Regions from separate parts of the Homo sapiens genome. Here all the other regions are linked to region 1. Evidence: promoter capture Hi-C in 16 types of primary human blood cells and fetal thymus (Javierre and others, 2016). All regions are on one chromosome and are shown on one strand. Each heading gives the region's core, a stretch centred on a gene start or on the middle of the fragment in contact. The rest is flanking DNA. Distances are from core to core; before and after follow the strand shown. Region 1 holds the start of DGUOK (deoxyguanosine kinase). Region 2 overlaps TET3 (tet methylcytosine dioxygenase 3). Region 3 overlaps TET3 (tet methylcytosine dioxygenase 3).

Evidence for each region. Contacts are between HindIII fragments. The CHiCAGO score rates a contact against its expected background, and 5 or more counts as called.
Region 2: a contact is called between a fragment that was not itself captured here and the fragment with the promoter of DGUOK in region 1, in 10 of 17 cell types (activated CD4 T cells, naive CD8 T cells, total CD8 T cells and 7 more). The highest score is 13.4, in activated CD4 T cells.
Region 3: a contact is called between a fragment that was not itself captured here and the fragment with the promoter of DGUOK in region 1, in 8 of 17 cell types (activated CD4 T cells, naive CD8 T cells, monocytes and 5 more). The highest score is 7.2, in activated CD4 T cells.

The regions. Positions count from the first base shown.
Region 1 is chr2:73,924,767-73,928,969 of GRCh38, forward strand. It overlaps DGUOK (deoxyguanosine kinase), which reads left to right and starts at 2,114. Exons shown (of 7, transcript NM_080916.3): 1 at 2,114-2,286. The coding sequence starts at 2,145. RefSeq lists an enhancer at 2,146-2,415. The HindIII fragment of the contact is 7,290 bases long and covers 793-4,203 here.
Region 2 is chr2:73,989,818-73,994,244 of GRCh38, forward strand. All of the region lies in intron 2 of TET3 (tet methylcytosine dioxygenase 3), which reads left to right. Among named protein-coding and RNA genes, the nearest start is that of TET3, 7.1 kb to the left of the region's middle. RefSeq lists an enhancer at 4,335-4,427. The HindIII fragment of the contact is 5,630 bases long and covers 1-4,099 here.
Region 3 is chr2:74,018,337-74,022,950 of GRCh38, forward strand. All of the region lies in intron 3 of TET3 (tet methylcytosine dioxygenase 3), which reads left to right. Among named protein-coding and RNA genes, the nearest start is that of TET3, 36 kb to the left of the region's middle. RefSeq lists a silencer at 2,725-2,804 and enhancers at 2,985-3,034, 2,986-3,485. The HindIII fragment of the contact is 1,716 bases long and covers 445-2,160 here.

The DNA of each region.
Region 1 (4,203 bases), core at 864-3,363:
TTTAGTAGAGACAGGGTTTCACCATGTTAGCCAGGATGGTCTTGATCTCCTGACCTCGTGATCCGCCCTCGTCAGCCTCCCAAAGTGCTGGGATTACAGGCGTGAGCCACCGCGCCAGGCCACTTCACCATAAAATTTTTAAAAATAATTTTTAGGAGCTCTGTTACTGGTGGAGGGTGCCCAGGTTCTTGACATTTTGAACAAAGAATTGGACAAAACGTACAAAGCAAGGAAACAATGAAGCAACAAAAGCACAGATTTATTGTACATCAAAGAACACTCCTTGCGGTAGGAAGGGCCCAAGCAAGCAGCAATTACAGAATTTTCTGGGGTTTAAATACCTTCTAGAGGTTTCCCATTGGTTACCTGGTGTACACCCTATGTAAATGAAGTAGTGGCCAGCGATCAGTCTGATTGGTTGCAGGAGGGGACCAATCAGAGGCTGAAGTAAAGTTATGAAGTTATACCCCATGCAACTAAAGACTTGGCCTGCCACCAGCCTGACTGATTGCCCGCGGGGACCAGTCAGAGGTACTTTCAATTTTTTATCTGCCACCCAGAAGAGGGATTAGCTTCTGGTCCTTTTGTTACTTGGGCTAGAAAGTTGGGGTTTTCCTTTTGATTTAGTTCTAGGAAGTCAGCCTAAATCGGCCTTAGGTTCCCTGTCTCCAGACCCTATTTTCCTGCCTCGTAGCTTTTAGGAGATTAATGCCTGCCTGCAGACAACTTCCTCATTTAACTTTCACAACACCCCTGAGGCAGCAAGATCCTGGCGAGGCAGAGAGCCTCTCAAGCTTTTTTGGATGAATATTTTCCAAGTCTGAGTTTACATAGGTAAAGAAATGTAAGCAGTTTTTTTTTTGTTTTTTGTTTTGTTTTGTTTTGTTTTGTTTTGTTTTAACAGAAGTGGCTGCTGGAGTGGAGATGGGAATGGGTAGGACTTTAGCCGCTCCAGTAGCCATTAACGCCCCACCCTGGTTATCCTTAAAAAATTCGATTAAAAAAAAAGTTCTTAATATATAAACATGACCTCAGCCATCCTATATATACATCAACATAAGAAAAAGGTCCCGTGCTTTTTATGGGAACAGCTTCAAGACAGGTATCCCAGCCCCCGGCCCCTCCCCAGCCCCCTTGCAATCAGATCCTTGTCTTCTAAAACCTGCCACACCTAAGAGCGCTGCCTGAAGGCCGGTTTGGCCTGTTGACTCCTGGTTTTGACTGTTGGTGATTTAAGCGATTGGAACTGGAAGCACCATTTGACAACATTTTGTAAATCATTACTTCTGAGGTTGTTATGACGACGGGGTGTGGCAGTCCGGCTTCACCTGTGGCAGCAGCTTAGGTCCCTGCCCTCCTGCAGAGCACACTTCACCGACAGCAGGACTCAGGTTTTATACAAGTCTCTACTCGCCATTGCTTACGTCCAAGAACCCAGCCTACCAGGTTTAAACAATTTCCAGTCACATACCTGAGCCACCACCACCTTATCCTGAAGGGATTTTTGGGTATAATGCAAATCGATTGACCGAACATTTATTTACTTATTCAAGACACAAACTAAGAGATGGGGTGTAACTGATTATCTAATTTGTTAATTTAGTCAATAATATGCCAGCATTGTGCAGGGGAATTACAGGGAATAGGAAAAAGTTAAATTTGTGTAAATCATCAGATTGAGTCATTTTCCTACTTTAAAACTTCCATTTTCTTCCGATATTAAAATAAAAACCAGACAACAAGCACCTGGGGGGGGGGAAATCCCCTCTTAAAATTACAATTTCTATTTTTAATTTTGTCTTCAGTTATAAAATTTATTTTAAAGTTATACAAAAATGAAGTGGTTGGATTGTGGAATTACGTCTTTTAAAATGTTATTTGTCCAATGAACAAAAACCACTCGCACCGCAACTCCTTTTACTATCAAATTCTGCACCGTTGCAAAACTTCCTTCACTCAACGCTTCTTTACAAACATCGCGATAGCGGAGCGGTCTCTTGGGCGCACCCCGCCGCATGTTCAACCCCACCCACTTCCTGTCTGACGATCTCCTTACGTCAACGGTGCGCTGGAGCGAGTGAGCAGCGATACCTAGGGCGGAAGTGCTCTCGGCGGAAGTGATCGCTGTGTGAATCGTGGGTGGGATGGCCGCGGGCCGCCTCTTTCTAAGTCGGCTTCGAGCACCCTTCAGTTCCATGGCCAAGAGCCCACTCGAGGGCGTTTCCTCCTCCAGAGGCCTGCACGCGGGGCGCGGGCCCCGAAGGCTCTCCATCGAAGGCAACATTGGTAAGGGCCGGAAAGCGGCTGCCAAGCCTTGGCCTCCGCCACGCAGGCGACAGAGGCTGGGAAAGGAGCTGGGCCCGGAATGGCCTGCGTCTGATGCGGCCGGCCTCTTTTTCTGGGCTGCGAGGAGAGCCTTTCCCCTCGCAAAGTGCACTGTGTATCTTTGCCTCCTTGTTTTTAGGATATCGGGCCTCAGTACCCGCCCACAGGAACATATTTGTTGGGGCATAAAAGCCACGCAGTTAGTGGATAGGACAAGAATTGTATTAGCTGTTTGTAATAGATCGAAATTGAAGCGACAAGCGGGTGCAGTTTATTTGTTCTCCTAGATAGGGTTGCCATATTTAGCAGAAATTAAAAATAATATCCAGTTAAAATAGAATTTAAGATAACGAATAATTTTTAGTGTGTGTCCAATGCAATATTTGGGACATCCTTACAGCAAAACAACAACGAAATCACTCATTGAAAGTTCAAATTTAACTGTGTCCTGTATTTTATCTGGCAACCCTATTCGAAGAGAGTTCCTAAATTTCAGTCGTTCAAATACCACATTCACAATTTTTGCCCTGTGCCTGTGCTAGTTGCATAATAATTTCTTAAGGCTTTTCTTAGAAGAACCTCACTTTTTAAACTTAAAAACATGTATTAAATTAAAAATTATTTTGTTAAAAGAGTGAGATCCAGTATCTTGAATAAAAAGTAGTCAGAAAGCAAAATGAAGGCAAAGCATTTCGATTTAATATTAATAAATTCTGACTTGATACTTTTATCTACCAAGTCACTGAGCCCCTAAAAGGGGCTTAGCAAGTGTTGAGTACTGAAGACGTAGCAGCAAACTGAGAATTTCTTTTTTTATTCATTCAACAAATCACCTTTTGAGCCACTTCCATATGCCAGCACTGTTCTTGGCCTGGAGAATACAGCTGTGAATAGAACAAATAAAAATCTCTGCTCTCATGGAACTCAAGTAGGGAGAGATGGACAATAAACAACATAAATTAAGCAAGGTGAACAATATGTTAGAGAGTAATAAGTATGATGGAGAAAAATTAGGGATGAAGAATTGAGGGAAGTTTTTATTTTATTTTATTTGAGATGGAGTTTTGCTCTTGTTACCCAGGCTGGAGTGCAATGACACGATCTCGACTCACTGCAACCTCTGCCTCCCTGGTTCAAGCGATTCTCCTGCCTCAGCCTCCCGAATAGCTGGGATTAGGGGCACCCGCCACCACACCCAGTTAATTTTTGTTTTGTTAGTAGAGACAGGGTTTCACCATGTTGGCCAGGCTGGTCTCAAACTCCTAACCTCAGGTGATCCGCCTGCCTCGGCCTCCCAAAGTGCTGGGATTATAGGCGTTAGCCACTGCACCTGGCCGAAGTTGTCATTTTAAATAAAATAAGCAAGGCCTCACTGAGAAGGTGACATCTGAGCAAAAAACTGAAGATGAGGGAGCAAATCACGTGGATACCTGGGAGAAGAATCTTCTAGGCAGAGTGAAGAGCAATTGGAAAGGCCCTGAGGTGGAAAGTGTGTTCGGGGAATAGGAGGGAAATCGTTGTGACTGAAGTCGAGTGAGCAAGGATGGGAGGGAAATTAGGGCAAAAGCCCAAGGGGTGGCCAGATTTTATAGGCCTTATCATGGGTTTTTAATCTTACCGAGATGGGTAGCCATTGGAAGGTTTGAGGAGTCAAGTGACAGTTTTACTTAGATTATAAAAAGATCACTGTGGCTGATAACATTGAAAGTGAAGAGTGTTAAGTGGTATTGCAATAATTATAGTATTGTGAAAAGTGAAAGTGGTGAGACGTGATTGGATTCTAGTTATACGTTAACAAAAATTGAGTTACATTTTAAGTAAAATTTAACAGTGGAAGTGGTGAGAAATGATTGGGTTCTAGTTATATTTTAAGATAGG
Region 2 (4,427 bases), core at 35-2,534, 64 kb after region 1:
GTAAGGAAGCACAGTGGATAGGGCTGAGAACCCAGAGTAAGTGCTGTGCCCTTACTCTCTTGGGCAACCAGTGCTCCATCCCTTCTGTGTCCATTTTCTCAATTGTAAGATGGGAGTAACCCTGCTTTGTAGGGTTGTCATGAGGATTAAATGAGATAAAATATGCATAATGTCTGGCACATAGTAGGTAATCAATGCATGATGACAAAACATTCCTAAACATCTAGAAAATGATGAATCTTTATGCATAAACAACTGTGCATTAGTCTTCGAGCTGTAAAGATGCAATACAAGGGCTAGGTATGGTGGCTTACTCCTGTAATCCCAGAGCTTTGGGAGGCTGAGGCAGGATGATCACTTGAGACCAGGCTGGGCAACATAGCAAGACCCCATTGCTAAAAAAAAAAAAAAATTAGCCAGGCATGGTGGCATGTGCCTGTAGTCCTAGCTCCTGGAAAGACTGAGGTGGGAGAATCGCCTGAGCCCACAGTGGGCAATATTTGAGCCACTGCACTCCAGCCTGCATACAACTCCAGATGCAATACAAATTAAGCGTTTATCTCAAGGCATTCACCTCACTTGCTCATAGAAGAACCGTGGGGCAGAACAGTAGAGCCAGGCAGAGGGAGGGAGGAGTTTGCCAGCCTCTGTGCTGGGGGAGGAGGCTAGACACCAAGGAGTCACTATGGTCCTAGGCCTGACTGAAAAGTTGACCATGGATGAGGGAAGTAAATAACTATTAGAGTAGGAGAATGACCCTTAAAAAAATGCATAGAAAAATGTATGCATAAGTTTGGAAGCATGACTGAGAATATTATGGGTGAAAATGAGAGAAATGGAAAGATATATGTGATGAGAATACTTTCTAGCCCTCAGCCAACTGGATTTACATCTTGAAACAGATCTCTGCCAGATTTGAGTCAAGATACCTTGGAATTGGGAATCTTTCAACAATATCAGAACACCTGATGAATCCTTGCCCATCCTGCTGGTAGTTCTATCTTCCTGAAGATGGAGGCTGTGGAGAGGAATGTGTTCAGGCTGGTCTCAGCATCAAAGGGAGAATTGACTAGAGAAGTGGAAGTGATGAGAATCTTTAGAGAAAGGGACCGCATCTGAGCATTTGTCAAGCCTGAAAGAAGGTTGGACAGGGAGGAGTGTTTGTATTTTTAGTAGAGATGGGGTTTCACCATGTTGGCCAGGCTGGTGTTGAACTCCTGACCTCAGGTGATCCACCCACCTTGGCCTCCCAAAGTGCTGGGATTACAGGCGTGAGTCACCGTGCCCGGCCCTTGGTGTTTTTTTAAATAGAGACAGGGTCTCGCTATTTTGCCCAGGCTGGTCTTGAACTGGTGAATTACAATTTTTATGGATAGTCTTTAGAATATCGTCTTTCAAATGCAAGCGGTTTTTAACTCCACGGCCACAGATTCTAAATGAAAATTAGCTGGAGGGATAGAATTGCTTGTTAAAAAGCAAACTCTGGCCGGGCACGGTGGCTCACGCTTGTAATCCCAGCACTTTGGGAGACCAAGGCAGGCAGATCACCTGAGGTCAGGAATTCGAGACCAGCCTGACCAACATGGAGAAACCCCATCTCTACTAAAAATACAAAATTAGCCAGGCGTGGTGGTGGGTGCCTGTAATCCCAGCTCCTGAGGATTGGACAGATGAGAAGTCCAGTTTTTGACTTAAAGTCATCTTAGAGGGAGGCCACTGATACGACTGCCCTGTTCAGTCTGTCAACCATGTAGATCAGGGGTTCCACATTGGGATCACCTGGGAAATGTAGCAAAACATGGTGCCTGGGCCCCACTCCCAAGGGATTCTGATTTAATTGATCCAGGGTGGACCAAACTGGTCTGGGGCTCCCAGGTGTACCTAGGCTGAGGCAGGAGAATCCCTTGAACCCAGGAGGCAGAGGTTGCAGTGAGCTGAAATTGCGCCATTGCACTCCAACCTGGGCAACAAGAGTGAAACTCTGTCTCAAAAAAAAAAAAAAAAAAAAAAAGAAGGAAACGCTGATAGAACAGTCATGAATGATAGCTTCAGGAGAAAGGTGTTGGTGGGACTGGGGAAGGACTGAGCCATCTGTGTGGCTGTATGGGCTGTTCTCTAGTGAGTGAGGGGGTAAAAGGCCAAGCACATTATGTGGAAAGTGGGGACATGGCACTGAAGCAGAGTCAGGAGTGTGGTCTGAGCCCCTAAGAGGAGCATCAGGGAGTCCAGTGGCCAGAATGTGCTAAGGCTGGTGGAAAATGCTGATAACAATGTCTTGTATATGGTTCTAGCAAGAGTGAGAGGGAAGAGGTAGGCTTACAACTTTCTAGGGATGGAGAGAGTGGACAGACACTGGGTCCCTGTGGTGTCAGAAGATATAACCTGGGGAAAACAGAGCCAGCCAGCTACCCTACCTGAGTCTGAGTCATTCACTTCCTACTGAACACCTGCAGATGTGATTGCAAAATCACAATCTTTTTTTCTTTTCTTTTTTTTTTTTGTTTTGTTTTGTTTGAGATGGAGTCTCGCTCTGTTACCCAGGCTGGACTGCAATGGCGTGATCTTAGCTCACTGCAACTTCCACCTCCCCGGTTCAAGCGATTCTCCTGCCTCAGCCTCCCGAGTAGCTGGGATTACAGGCATGTGCCATCACGCCTGGCTAATTTTTGTTTTTTTAGTAGAGAAGGGGGTTCACCATGTTCGCCAGGCTGGTGTTGAACTCCTGACCTCAGGTGATCTGCCCACCTTGGCCTCCGAAAGTGCTGGGATTACAGGCGTGAGCCACTGTGCCCGGCCCTTGTTGTTTTTTTAAATAGAGACAGAGTGTCGCTATTTTGCCCAGCCTGGTGAACTCATGGTGAATTACAATTTTTATGGAATTATGATGATTGAAAGAGGGCCAAAAAACCAGAGATGGGCTAAAAGTCCAATTTCTCAAAGAGATTTTGAAAATTGTAAATATATAATCTTAATGTCAGTTTTTGAGAGTTCTAGAACAGATTGTTTAAAAGGTGTTTTGTGAAACTTTAGAAAGGCAGGTGATAAACTTTGAGGGTGCTTGTGGTTCTTTTCAAAGCAGCTGAGGCAAATGAACAGATCTAGATTTCTGTAAATAAATGATGGCATCTCCTGCCAGCTTGGACAGATGAGAAGTCCAGTTTTTGACTTAAAGTCATCTTAGAGAGGGAGGCCACTGATATGACTGCCCTGTTCAGTCTGTCAGCCATGTAGATCAGGGGTTCCACATTGGGATCACCTGGGAAACGTAGCAAAACATGGTGCCTGGGCCCCACTCCCAAGGGATTCTGATTTAATTGATCCAGGGTGGACCAAACTGGTCTGGGGCTCCCAGGTGTACCTAATGTGTAGTTAGCATGGAAACCCTCTGATGCAGGTGAGAGACTGTGAGGTGATGGGCACCTACCTGGACTATTCTATGGCAAATTGCTCACCTGAGTCCTGAGACACCTGTATGTTCCACAGCCTCACTTCCACCTTGCTGCTCAGTGGACCAGCAGCATTGGCATCACCTGCAAGTTTGATAGAACTGCAGAATGTCCAGCCCTACCCCAGACCTGCTGAATTGAAATCTGCACTTTAACCAGATCCCCAGGTGATTTGTATGTCCATGAAAGTTTGAGGAGCTGTCTACAACATCTCTATGACCAGAAGGGAATGGGACACGGAGCCAGTGGGGTGGAGGGCGGGGGCAGTGACAAATAAGCTGTGATGAACAGGCAAAGAATTCCAAGTGCCAGCAGGGTAAAGAGGATGACCCAACCCATTTCCTGACCCTCTAAGCCGGGGAGACAAGGACCTCTTGAGATTTACTGCATGTTTCTGCTTGTTCTTCTGGCATTTGTTTCCTTGTAGTTTAGTGAGTTATCAGTAAAACCTATCAATAAAACTGATCTACAAAGTTATCAGAGAACTTGTGAATTTGTTCTGACAACAGTCAGGAAAGGGCTCTCAGAAGATGTTTGCTGCTCAGCAGCCTGATTCAGGAGGTTGGAGCTCCATGACCCAGTAGTAGATGGTGGTGGTTGTGCAGAGGAAGGGGTGTGTCCATAGAATCTTAGGTCTCATGGAACAATCTGGAAGCTTATGGAGCAGAATCGATGTGTGCCCTTTTCACAAGATGAAGTAGTAGGCGAGTCAGATCTGTGGGTGTGGTGGGTAGGTGGGTGGCAGTGATGATGCAGTTATTACGTTGCATGATAGAACAAGGGGCTAAGGAGGTTGGGGCAGTCAGGTACAGTGAGTCCCAGTAAGACTCAATGGGATTTAATCAGGGCAAGTACAAAGGCCTGTACTTGTTTTAAAAAAGAAATGTACGAACTCTGGCTTCCTAGCAGGTAGGAATAACTGAAACTCTAAAAAAGAATGTTGACAGTCTGTCTTGAAATCTGTCAGAGTGGTCACATGCA
Region 3 (4,614 bases), core at 53-2,552, 93 kb after region 1:
TGTTACGTTTTGAAAAAAATTTTGGCCTGTTTGTCTTTCATTGTGTCTATCATAAAAATTTGATTTTTATACAACGAGAATTCATCAGTATTTTGGCTTTTCTTACTTAAGTTTTATTTTAGATGTTCAGATTTCTAAGGTGAGATTTATTTTTGCATGCGATATAAGATAGGGATTGAACTTTTCCTAAATAGAAAGCCTGTTATCCCCAATCTATTTATTGGGTATTTGTAGTTTCCCTTGTAGTGTATGAATTCTACCTTAAGCATTTCATAAGTACTCTTACAGTCATGGGTGTTTTAAGGCCTCTTTTTACTTCCATTGACTTATTTGTCTGATTCTGTGTATTTCATTGTTTTAATTACCACCATTTTTATATAATACTTTGGTTTAAAACATACTTCTTACTTTTTTTTTTTTTTTTGGCATTTCTTTCTCCAAATAAGCTTATAAACAACTTACCATGTTCTGCGAAAAATACTGGGATTTTTCAGTTGGAATCACATGAAACGTACAGGTTATTTTGGGGAGAATAGATAGCTTTACAATGAATCTTCCTATCCAGAGAAAGGGAAGTAGACCTTTCCGTTTATTCTAGTCTTTTTTGTGTGTTCATCAAAGTTTTAAGGCCAGGTGTGGTGGCTCATGCCCCATAATGCCAGTGCTTTGGGAGGCTGAGGCGGGAAGACTGCCTGAAGCCAGGAGTTTGAGATCAGCCAGGGTAACATAGTGAGACCCCCCGCCAACCCTCATCTCTACAAAAAATAAAAACTAGCTGGGTGTGGTGGCGCATGCCTGTAGTCCCAGCTACTTGGGAGGCAGATGTGGGAGGATCGCTGTAGCCCAGGAGTTGGAGGCTGCGGTGAGCTATGATCTGGCCACTGCACTCCAGTCTGGGCGACAGAAGGAGACTCTGTCTCTAATAAAAACCAAACAAACAAAATAAATGAAACGTTTTAAGGTTTTCTTCTTACACATTTCTTGTGAAGTTTCTTCCTAGATATGCTGTAGCTGCTGTTGTTGCTGTTGGGAATGGGATCTTTTCTGTTATACTTTGTATCCCATCTTTGCCCGCATATTAGAAATGCAGCTGCTCTGTGCTGCCTCTTCTGACACTTCTGTCCCTTTCTCCCTCAAGTCCTCATGGTATATTGTCTGTACCTCCGTGGCAATACTGTGTGCCTGAGTGTGAGTTCCCAGTGGTGGGGTGCTCATCTCACTCCATTTCATGTCACCAGTACCTGGCACAAAGCCTAGCATGCGGTAAATCCTTTTAATAAACGCCGTGGCATCAGATTGATGAGAGGGACAGTGAGCTTCACCTCTTCAAAGTGTGACAGCCTGGGCCAATGTGAGCAGCAGAATCTCAAGCAGCCCTGGCTCCAGGCCCTGCAGGCTGTGATCTGGATAACAGATTGGGCACCCTCCTTGTCCCCGCAGGAAAAAGGAGGTCCTGGGCCATTTTTCCACGTGCAGACATCAGGGAGGAGCCCTCTGAGCCTCTATCTCATTATTATCCTGAGACCCACAGCCCCCTTGTTGTTAGCCCTCATTAGTGCTAACTAGTTGGGAGAACTGCTTTCTTAGCTTCCAATCATTTCAAGGTAGCACAAACAAACTTATCTGCAGCTTCCCTTAGGGGATGAGGACTCATCAAGGCTGGAAGCAGAGCTTGTACAGAACATTGTGAGATGGGTTCACACCTATGTGCCCAGTCACCTTCTCTCATATGGTAGTGCCTTTCTTTTTTCTTCTACTATTCTCCTCCAGAGTATATGCATCCCCCCAACCCAGTATGTCCTACGTGAAGTTTATTCCTATCCGTGTGCTAATCTTTACCATAGCGTTTGCATTTGTTTTTCCCTTGAGACAGAGTCTCACTCTGTCACCAAACCTGGAATGCAGTGGCATGATCTTAGCTTACTGCAATCTCTGCCTCTGGGTTCAAGTGATCCTCCCACCTCAGCCTCCCTAGTAGTTGGGACTACAGGTGCATACCACCACACCCAGCTATTCTTTGTATTTTTTTAGAGATGGGGTTTCACCATATTGCCCAGGCTGGTCTTGATTTCTGGGGCATAAGTGGTCTGCCTGCCCAAAGTGTTGGGATTACAGGCATGAGCCACAGTGCCCAGGCTTGGTGTTTGCATTTTATATGTAAGCTTTTGTTTGTAATTGGGGAATGGCAGGCACTATTCCTTGATGGAGCTGTCTGGGGCATGCCAATTCACTCTGTACCCTTGGCAGTGGTTCCAGACTCTCAGGTCCCTGCCCCCACTGGTCTCTGCTGCCCCTGGAGCAAGGATGGTGATGTCTACCTGCCTTGGAGGGACCCAGGAACAAGGGAACTCCCACCTCTTGTTCAAGGGCTTGAGGGCTATGCCCTTGGAGAGAAGGGAATCCCTGCTGTTGTTAAGCAGGGGTCAGGATTTCTGCCTCTCAACATGCATAAAAAGAAGGTGGGAGTGAGGACGTGAGCTGATTTCTAATCCCTCTCTAGCAGTTGTGCATCTGGTTCAGCGTGTCCCGGGGTTTCCCTGGGTTTTGCTTGACCGCAGCAGTAAGCTGTTCCTCATTTATCCCGTGGTCTGTGCTCACCCTCCCCTTCCCACTCACTCATCTCCCATGCTCAGGGTGGCAGAGGACATAGAAATGCTTCTCTGGCTCCTCTGCTGGTTTGTTTTAATCCCTGGGAAACATTGGAACCAAGAGGACACTCAAGAAATACTGGATTGGGGAAAAGATCTGGAAGTATTGCTCTATCTGCCCCTATCCCCTGCTGTTGGTTTCTTACTTCATCTCCCAGTGCCCACCTGGGGCCTCTGAGTCTCCCCAGCCAGGTGGCCCTGAGGCTCCCCATGAGGCCCCAGCTGCATCCACAGCTGCATCTCTGCCAGCTCTGGAGGAGCTGCTTTCTCAGGGTGCTGAGCAGAGACTCTGACAGATGGACCTCCATGAACCGATGGAGCTGTTCCAGATGCCTCCTTACAGAGCAGAGCGCATTCTGGCAGTGAGGCCACGATGCAGGGCTGCCTAGGGCTTTAGCCCACCCGTTGGACAAAGTCTGTTTCTACACTGCCACCTCCATCCATGTTTTGGCGTTTCAGAGAGCATCAGCACTGACCACTGAATGGCCAGGCCTGCATGTGCATATGGGAGGTGGGAAGAGACTACTGTCCCTGGTCAGCCTGTAAGAACCTCAGTTCACCTGGTTTCTGAACCAGCCGAGGCCTTCCCCTCATCTGCACTCACCCTCAACCCCATAGGATTATGGGAAGGGGTTCTCAAAAGGTCGTTCAGGGGCCACCTGGGTCAGAATCCCTTCCATGGTCAGGCAGCGTTGATCTCTGGTGGGACCTGGGAATCTGCATCCATAACCAGCTTCCTACAGGTGATTCCCACGCCCAATGGAGTTTGAGAACTGCTGGCCTGTGAACTAATGTTAACAAAAGAGGCTGCCTGTTTGGGGCTTCCAGTACTTGATCAGGACTGAAAAGATATGCCTTTAAATGCCATGATGGTTTGTGAAAAGGCCAGGTGCTATGCAAACACTTGTGAAAACACAGGAAGACATTTCAGATATGATCAAACTCTAGGAAATAGTTAAAACTTTTTTTTGCCATTGTCTATTACAAAGAATAAAAATTCACTGTAGAAAAATCAGAAAGTTCAGATAAGCAGATAGAGAAAAATAAAAAAGTCCATAATTTTTCTACTCAGAGAGAACTCCTGTTACTATTTCAGTCTTTCTAGGACACTTTTTTTTTTTTTTTTTTTTTTTCCATTTTAAATGTTTCTGGTCTTTTCCCTCTGGGATTGTCAAAATAATACATGTTTATTGTAAAACTATTTCTTTTCTGATTGGCATAAAAATGAGTGCAAAATGTTTGATTTGCAAATCTTTCCTTGCTATGTTTAGTTGTGATCTTTTTTCTTTGTGAATATATTTTTATTTCCTTTATTTTTTGTGTATGCTTTTTTTATGAATGGTAAGACAGCTTCATGTATTAGTGGTATTAACTCTTTATCATGCTTTGGCAAGTATTGCAAATTTCTTTTAATGTATGTTTGGGGGGTTTTTTGTTTGTTTTTTGTTTTTTTGTTTCTTGAGACAGAGTCTCACTCTGTTGCCCCGGCTGGAGGGTTTTTTTTTGTTTGTTTTGTTTTTTGCCAAACTTTTTTTTTTTTACATGCTTGTGTGATCAAATCTAGCTCCAGTAGTTAATCGGTTTATTATTTTTTTTTCTTTTGGTTGTGCCAGACAGAACACAGAACAGGCACTGCTTTTGCAAATTAAGAGGAATTGAGGGGCAATTAGGCAGGTATAGGCCAGACCAGTGCTTCTCCACTTTATCTTCTTCATCCAGATAACCTGGGATTCTTACTACAATGCATTTTCAAATTCAGTGAGTCTGAGATGAGGCTGAGAGTCTGCTTTTTATTTTTTTTATTTTTTTGAGATAAGAGTCTTGCTCTGTCGCCTAGGCTGGAGTGCAGTGGCATGATCTTGGCTCACCGCAACCTCCACCTCCCAGTTCAAGCGATTCTCATGCCTCAGCCTCCCAAGTAGCTGGGACTACAGGCACTCGCCATCACGCCTGGCTAATTTTTGTA